Linked DNA regions of Homo sapiens: region 1 is linked to region 2. The links are contacts of gene promoters, found by promoter capture Hi-C in blood cells and fetal thymus (Javierre and others, 2016). All regions are on one chromosome and are shown on one strand. The core of a region is centred on a gene start or on the middle of the fragment in contact, and the rest is flanking DNA. Distances in the headings are between cores, read along the strand shown.

Region 1 (3,560 bases), core at 892-3,391, 260 kb after region 2:
GTCTATGGGATCATTAAAATGATGTGACATCATGCTTACAGAATATTTTAAAAACTCATTAAAAACTCAAAATGCAGGGTTTCTCCCTACAATGTATGAAGTCTTTTTCTTTTTCTTTTTTTTAAAGACAGGATCTTGCTGTGTCACCCAAGCTGGAGTACAGTGGCATGAATATGGCTAACTATAGCCTCGACCTCCTGGGCTCAAGTAATCCTCCTGCCTCATCCTCCCATGTAGTTGGGATCATAGGTGTGCATCACCACACCTAGCTAAGTTTTATTTTTTGTAGAGATTGAGGTCTCACTTTGTTGCCCAGGCTGGTCTTGAACCCCTCGGCTCAAGCAGTCCTCCTGCCTTGGTCTCCCAAAGTGCTGGGATTACAGGTATGAGCCACCACACACCCAGACCTTGTATGAGGTCTTAAACATATGTCACGGTAAATCTTTTTTTTTCTTCTATGTTCCTCTTCACTTACCTTCTTCATGTTCAGTAAAAAGAAAGTGCCAGAACATATAGCATGAGCCATTGTAAGATACATGGATGTGCTTTGGTTAAGGAAAAGGCCGAGGCGGATATCCAGGCGAGTATGAGTCAGCAAGTTTGGTGCGCAGGCACACACCTCCACTTATTATATAGCCTGTTCGTGTAAGTTCATGCTTGGCTTGGAGCCACTATTGTCTGTAAAAGGTATAACTGTCCTGCTGACTCTGTGCACGGGGCTTAGCTCTTGGGGGGCTCGGCTCGGCTCAACACGGCTTGACATGGTGGGCACGCTGGCGTCCAGAGAAAGAGAGAGCCAAAGCTGTCCTTCTTGCAGACAGACAGGAGGGGGCCAAAACACAGCTCAGGCTTGTTTGTGCTCAAAGAGAGAAAGTTAAGCTGTTGACCCTGAAGGCAAGGGAGAACTGGCCTCGCAACCTTGCGTGGGGGTGGCCAATTCAAGCAGCTGAGACAGAGCGGACAGCGTAAGAAAAGCTGCTCAGGAGAGAGGTAGTTTAAGAAAGCTGTTGATGAGAGCTGCTGCTGAATAAAACCATATTCACCCGCCTGTGGCCCCCCGAGGGTTCTTTCTGCTCATCCACCCACTCCCCTCGGACTTCAGCATGGTGTGGACCTGGACCCCAGGATCTGACAGCCATGAAAGATGTTGTTAATCTCAGAATAGAGTTAAGAGGAAATTAAAGCTTACTTTTAAACTATTTTACACTTACTGGCAGGCAGGAGCCAAGTGGTTCCTATAGTCTCAAATGTAGAGATTTATCAAAGCTGTAAGGAAGGTATGGCGCTAAAAGGTGCAGAAAACTGGCTTCAATTAACATTCTAATCATCACTGTCAACGCCATTATGCAACTCTGTGTAGAGTGGCATATTCGGCACTGTGGGGTTAAACATAAGCAGTGGGCGCTGCCTTCCCTAGAATCGCAGTATCGAGAGCTGTTGTCAACAGCTCAATTCGGGGCCTGCAGACAAAAGGTTCTGTACCCACTTACCAATTCCCTGAGCTCTCCAGTCCCTGGTAAATTGCTTTTGAACACATTCTCAACTTTTATCTTTTTTTTTTTAAATGAAAATGTTAGTGGGTAAAATCCAGTATAAGGGACACATTATTCTGAGAGCATAGCTTTCCCTACCGATACCAGCGTCATTTCCACTGCTCTGTAATAAGTAGCTGCAGCTGTTGCCATGGCGATTTTCATTTTTAAAAACTGTATCCATACAAAGACAGGCAACGCAGCTGTTTCCATGAAGCATCACGAAATAAGCCCAGATGTAATGGCACTCCTGTCTTTTTCCAGAATTAAGGAGATGTGTCTAAAAGTCCAGGTAGAGCCAAAGGATGGGGCTGTAGCTGTGCCTTGAGAGGAGCCTCCTGCTTTCACTTGAAGCTCAGGACACTAATGGAGGGTAAATTAGTGGCGCTAGTGAGCGTTCAATTTCTACCCAGTTTTCTCAGGCAGATTCTTTGTACCAGTGAATCACTATTTACACTGTGATTATAACTTCCTCCAATAGCCTCCTTTGAAAAAGACACCGTCTTCCTCCAAATCCGCACATGCTACCCCGGAACATTACAAGAACAAGCACTGCTGATGGGGCTCAGTACTTGTTTTTCTGAAGTCCCGTGGCCTCCTACCTACATGTTATTAAAATGCTGCAAGCAAGCAAGTCAACACAAGTTTTTAAAATCATTCTCCACTTTCCAGTTAGAGGAAGCGTGCTGCCTGCTGCTGCCCTTGTCCTTTAATATGGAGGGAGTTTGGTTTTCTCTGTGTGTGGTCTGGTAGGCACCAATAAGGACAAAAAGATACCTGTCAAGCTCACCATTTCCTGAACAATGGTATTATCTTTCTCAGGGAACAGGAATCTTTTGTTTGTTTCTATTTTTGTTTTGAGGCCATTGATTTGCTAGCCAAGCCAGATGCTGAAAATTATGTAAGTAGAACCCACAGGTCGCCTCAATCCCTCATTCTAAACAAGATTCAAATGAGTTACCCCCTCACTGACCTGGAGAGCTATTTCTTCTGTCACATAGGTGCAGTGCACCAGATGGGACTGTGGCAGAAGAATAGTTAGGTGAAGAAAGCCTACCGTGTGCCTCATGGGGAAAGGATTTTAAAAGAAATTATATTTCCTGTCCATAGTCCTCCATCTCATATAACTATTTAACTCGTAAAAAACATAATTATGTTTCTGAATTTCTTTATATTTTGCCAATCAGTTACAGCTATTTTGTTGTTACTAAGAGCATTGAATTATAAACAGTATAAAACGCCAAATGCTCAGGAATCTAATAATAAAAGGACTTTTCCTGGAAAGCATAAGTAGTTCTTTTCTTCTATAAGGAGAGCCTCTGTTTGCAAAGAAATACGGCTGTGCTTAACATCTGAGTAGTCAGCAATCTTAGTGGTGGTGGTTGCTATTAATTGTAGTTGAGATGTGACCTACACATAATCCACAGAAGCCGTGGGGCTTTATGAGCACAACAATTGCCTGTGTTTGATTCTACCTTGCCAGGGATACTCTCCAAGATCCTGCAAAATATCATTTCTCTCCTTTGCACTATTGAGATGCAAATGGCGCTACTGGCTGACCACCGACAAGCTTTATGAGCAATAAGGAATCCAAATTCCTTCAAGGCATCCTTAAATATTAAAATGTCATACATAAACAAAATATGTAATGAACTTCAAATAATTACAACAAACAAAAATCTTATGCGTCCCTCAAGACCTGTAAGAAATCAAAGGGTCTCAGAATATTTCATCTGTCTTATCATCGAAGTAAGATATCAATGCCTCTTTCCATTTAAGAAAAATCCCAGAAACCAAATCAAAACAAAAAATTCTGGAGAATGCACTTGTCCAACATAAAGCAACTAAACAGTCACTGTCCCGATTATTGTTCTCTGGCGTTTTACCTACCAGCCCGGTACTGCTTCCAGATGTTTTGCTACCTTTTTTTTTTAATTAAAAAATTTTTTTTATAATTATACTTTAAGTTCTGGGATATATGTGCAGAATGTGCAGGTTTGTTACATAGGCATACATGTGACATGGTGG
Region 2 (3,991 bases), core at 836-3,335:
CTATAATTTCATGACTGACTGGCCTAATACAGTCTTAGGTTCCAGATTCTGTGCACAACCTCACCAGACCACAGAAGTTAAAGGAAAAGCAAATAAATAAATAAATAAAACAGTAGGCAGAGGTCAAAAGACAATGCTCAACACCAGCCTGAAATAAGGCAAGTCTCTCACAGGAATACATTCGGGATTTTACTATCATTTAACTGAAGGACTATTTTGATTACCTGCTGATTCAACATTAACTAGACATTTATTAGAACACCTGCTTTGTGCCAGGCACAGTGGTAGGCCTGGAGGCTATAGTGGGAAAAATAAAACAGGTACTAATGAGTAGTTGGAATTTCTTAATGGAAAACAAGATCATTCTCCATTGCAACCACTCTATAGCTAGTGGAGGCTTTGAAGAGACTCTTAGAGAGGTTTCAGTTCAGATCTTTCCTGGGGCTCACTTTGGTACCGTCTTCAAGATTTCTCTTGGAAAGGGGCATTAACTCCTTATCCTATCTTAGATGCAATCATATTGAGTTTTTGCCCTTACCATATTCATCAGTTTACATTTCTGAATATACTCATAAAAGGTCTCCTGGTCAGGTCTTATCTCCACTCACTAAAGATTCTCTTAACATCCAGAAATCTATCTCCAGACACCCTTTTATGTGCTCTTTCTAGAATGACAATATAAATGAGTTGGTACAAGAAATGTGAAAAAGAGAGATTGGAAATCTATTGAAATTTGCTAGTCATTAGTGCAGAAGGCTTTATTCACTTCCACATATTTTCTGCATTTAGGATCACCTGAACTTTATCACTTTTGCTGGTAGCAGAACAATTAAGCTGAATAGGACACTTAATTCTAAGAAAGTTCTAAAGAAATCTTTAAAATTTTTAAGACTATCCCTCTCACTATCCTTTAGGCTGAAAGTCTGTCCAAATGTCTTTTGGCACTTATGTGGAATATGATGAATTCCTTTCGCTGGATGTATCTCAGGATAGCATTAATTTGGTGTGATCGGGAGGTGAATTTCTTTAGGATCTTTTTCACTGTTCATGTGCTGTTTTGCAGTTCCTTTGGAGTAGTGGGGGCTTAAGGGGGCTTAGCTTTCATAAACTTTTGGTCTTGAGAATATATACCTGAGATGGGGTCGGTTTGGGAGCCTCCAATGCCTGTCAATTTGGGAACTCCAGAGTAGGATTTTATAAAAATAATCATCCATTCATAACTGTATTGAGTTACAAGGGAGGGCAAGAGAGTCATCCCAGGTCATAGTCATACAATGTAAATTTAGACCAAGGGATGAAACGTGTTGGAGAACACCCTGCAATAATCATTATTGGGTATCTGTGAATTTAACACACTTTTCAGAATGGGACAAGTTGCTTGCCACGGTAGGAAAAGCTGTGCCAAATGTTTGAGGAGAAATGTGGAGAGGAATAACATTAGCTTCAGATACCAAATTGCAAGTTAAACTTCCTGAGGATTTCCCGAACCCTGTTCAAATAAATTAAAATTTTGTTTACCAAAATGACTCCGATATGCAAATACAGAACACAGTGTTATATAGGTGCTAGGGACTGAAATTTTTTACAATCATATAATTTATTGTAATACTTAATATTATGATAAGACCGTTAATTTATCATATTTTCCCTGTAGTGTTTACTCACATGGACGGGGATAGATCCAGATTTCATGAAGTCTGAAGGTTACCTAATTTTGGAGGCTATTCTTAATAAAAAGAATGCACACTTTTGAATATCAACACTGGTCCCTTACAAAGGACCCATGCAGATGAAGAGCCCTGAAAGCTGAGTTTCATTGATTCCGGGTGAAACTACCTCTGGATGTGGAGCTGTGTTATGGGAATACCGCATCACAGTCAGGACCCAGCTCTGCTGCCGCCTCAGTAGGAGGCAAAGGTGGAAACGTGGAAACTATGGTTATAAGGTTCATACTTTACTGACCATCATTGAAGCTGCTTGTTGGGTCCCTTAGGAAGGGATCTCTCAATGAAACAAACATTAGAGCTTCTTATTTTTTTTTGAGACAGTGTCTAACTCTGTCACCCAGGCTGGAGTGCAGTGGCACCATCTTGGCTCACTACAACCTCTGCTTCCTGGATTCAGGTGATTCTCCTACCTCAGCCTTCTAAGTAGCTAGGATTACAAGGCATGTGCTACCATACCGAGCTAATTTTTGTATTTTTAGTAGAGACAGGGTTTTGCCATATTGGCCAGGCTGATCTTGAACTGCTGACCTCAAGTGATCCACCCTTATGACCAGCAGACCCTGATCTAAGAAGCTAGATGATTCCTCATGAGGTCACTTATAAACCTTATTGCTGATGTATTTCAGTTTATTTATTGGACTATCTTAGATTTTAAACACCCCACCCAATGCCACCATCTATGTAGCAACTAGAGCAGGACTCACAAATAAAATAACCTTCAAGGCCAAACAGCTTCCAATAGCCAGATTTGTCAAGATTAACTTAAGGTTTTAAAATTAGGCAATGCTTGTAGACACAAACCACTGTGGGCACCATAAAATATCACCTTATTTCAAAAGACTGAGAAAACTGAAAATGACCTGAAAAATTCCTATTGAGTGATCTATTTAATCACTCAGGTGGGGTATGGTGTATCTGGTGCATGTTCAACCTCAGGTGCAGGTGCATGTGCATGCAAATATACACGCGCCACGCTTTTAACCATGCATCTCTCTTTGAAAAGATCATTCCTTCTTTCTTATCTATATGTGAACAAATTGTCAAAACAACCTCAAATGCTAGATGATATAATCCCCAAATGCTAGTAATATAAAAATGACTGTAATAATACAAGTGATATCATTGCTATACATAGCACCACACTTTTACTGTTTCTCAAATCTACAACTATCCTATTTTCTAGTGTTTGTTTATTTCTTTATTCACTGAAATGACTGATATGGGCAGTTTAGACACCCAGAGGAGGAGATAATGGTTTTGATTGTGCTAGATGGTTTGACTCTGCTGAGTGTATCCTATAGACTTAATACCAACAGAGGTCATGGATATTTTTTTCCCACTTCTTTTCCTCTTTATTGTTAAGGAGACTAATTGTGTGTGAGTGTATGACAGGAAATGTTTTGATTTTTTTGTAGTGGCAAGAACAGGAGGGCATTCTTTTAAACATCTTTTCATTTTCTAGGCAAAGCGTGGGAATGGAGGATGAGAGATAGTCAATTTTCAGAATAAGATGTTCTACCAAGATGTAAAGAGGGGAAAAAAAGTAACTTTCAACAGCTAGGCAAGAACTGCCACAAGCAGTAGTCGAAAAAATCAACGGCATGGTTTCCTAATGTGGTCTTGGATTCAGCAAGAAAATACTACAGAGAGAAAACTGCAGGAGTCCCTATTTTGTCCCCTCAAAATGAATTAAATGGTCTAGTGGAAGCTGAAGGACTCTGAAGATGGTGAGTCTACCACTGATTCTTCAGATGGTGTCAAAGATGATTCCTGGTTAGGTATAAAAAGCAGCACTTTTAGTCTGCTATTCATACATTAAAAATGACAGAGAATATACACCTAGAATATTTACCTAGTACTGCTGCCTTGGAAACATGGTTCTAGGTCTCAGGAGTTTCCCAACAAGGAGTCTTTGTGCTCTTGAGACCTCAACAATGTACTGAGCTGACTACCTCAGCAATATTCTATCTAAACTAACACCCAGGTATAGTGATCAATGGTCTAACCAGCTTGCAAGTTATGGCTGAAATAGTGGTTTACCTATCAAATCCATGTAACTCCCAGAATAATTATGATTCTATCTTTTGGGCTGGCAATTATTTAAATAAAATATTATTTACAAAGGAAACAGCAGGGAGAAGAATCATGTAAATTAGATTCATTAAGTGGACAGATTCACTTACAGTTCATTTTGGAATAATTTATGCCAGTTTTCTCTGATGTCATCTGTTGTTCAGGTTAACAATTAGCTCATTATTAACTGA

Evidence for each region. Contacts are between HindIII fragments. The CHiCAGO score rates a contact against its expected background, and 5 or more counts as called.
Region 1: a contact is called between a fragment that was not itself captured here and the fragment with the promoter of SLC9A9-AS1 in region 2, in 8 of 17 cell types (M2 macrophages, endothelial precursors, naive B cells and 5 more). The highest score is 9.3, in M2 macrophages.

Annotation. Positions count from the first base shown.
Region 1 is chr3:143,596,557-143,600,116 of GRCh38, forward strand. All of the region lies in intron 6 of SLC9A9 (solute carrier family 9 member A9), which reads right to left. Among named protein-coding and RNA genes, the nearest start is that of SLC9A9, 250 kb to the right of the region's middle. The HindIII fragment of the contact is 1,918 bases long and covers 1,183-3,100 here.
Region 2 is chr3:143,340,161-143,344,151 of GRCh38, forward strand. It overlaps SLC9A9-AS1 (SLC9A9 antisense RNA 1), which reads left to right and starts at 2,086. Exons shown (of 4, transcript NR_048544.1): 1 at 2,086-2,124; 2 at 3,190-3,454. All of the region lies in intron 14 of SLC9A9 (solute carrier family 9 member A9), which reads right to left. The HindIII fragment of the contact is 6,948 bases long and covers 1-3,991 here.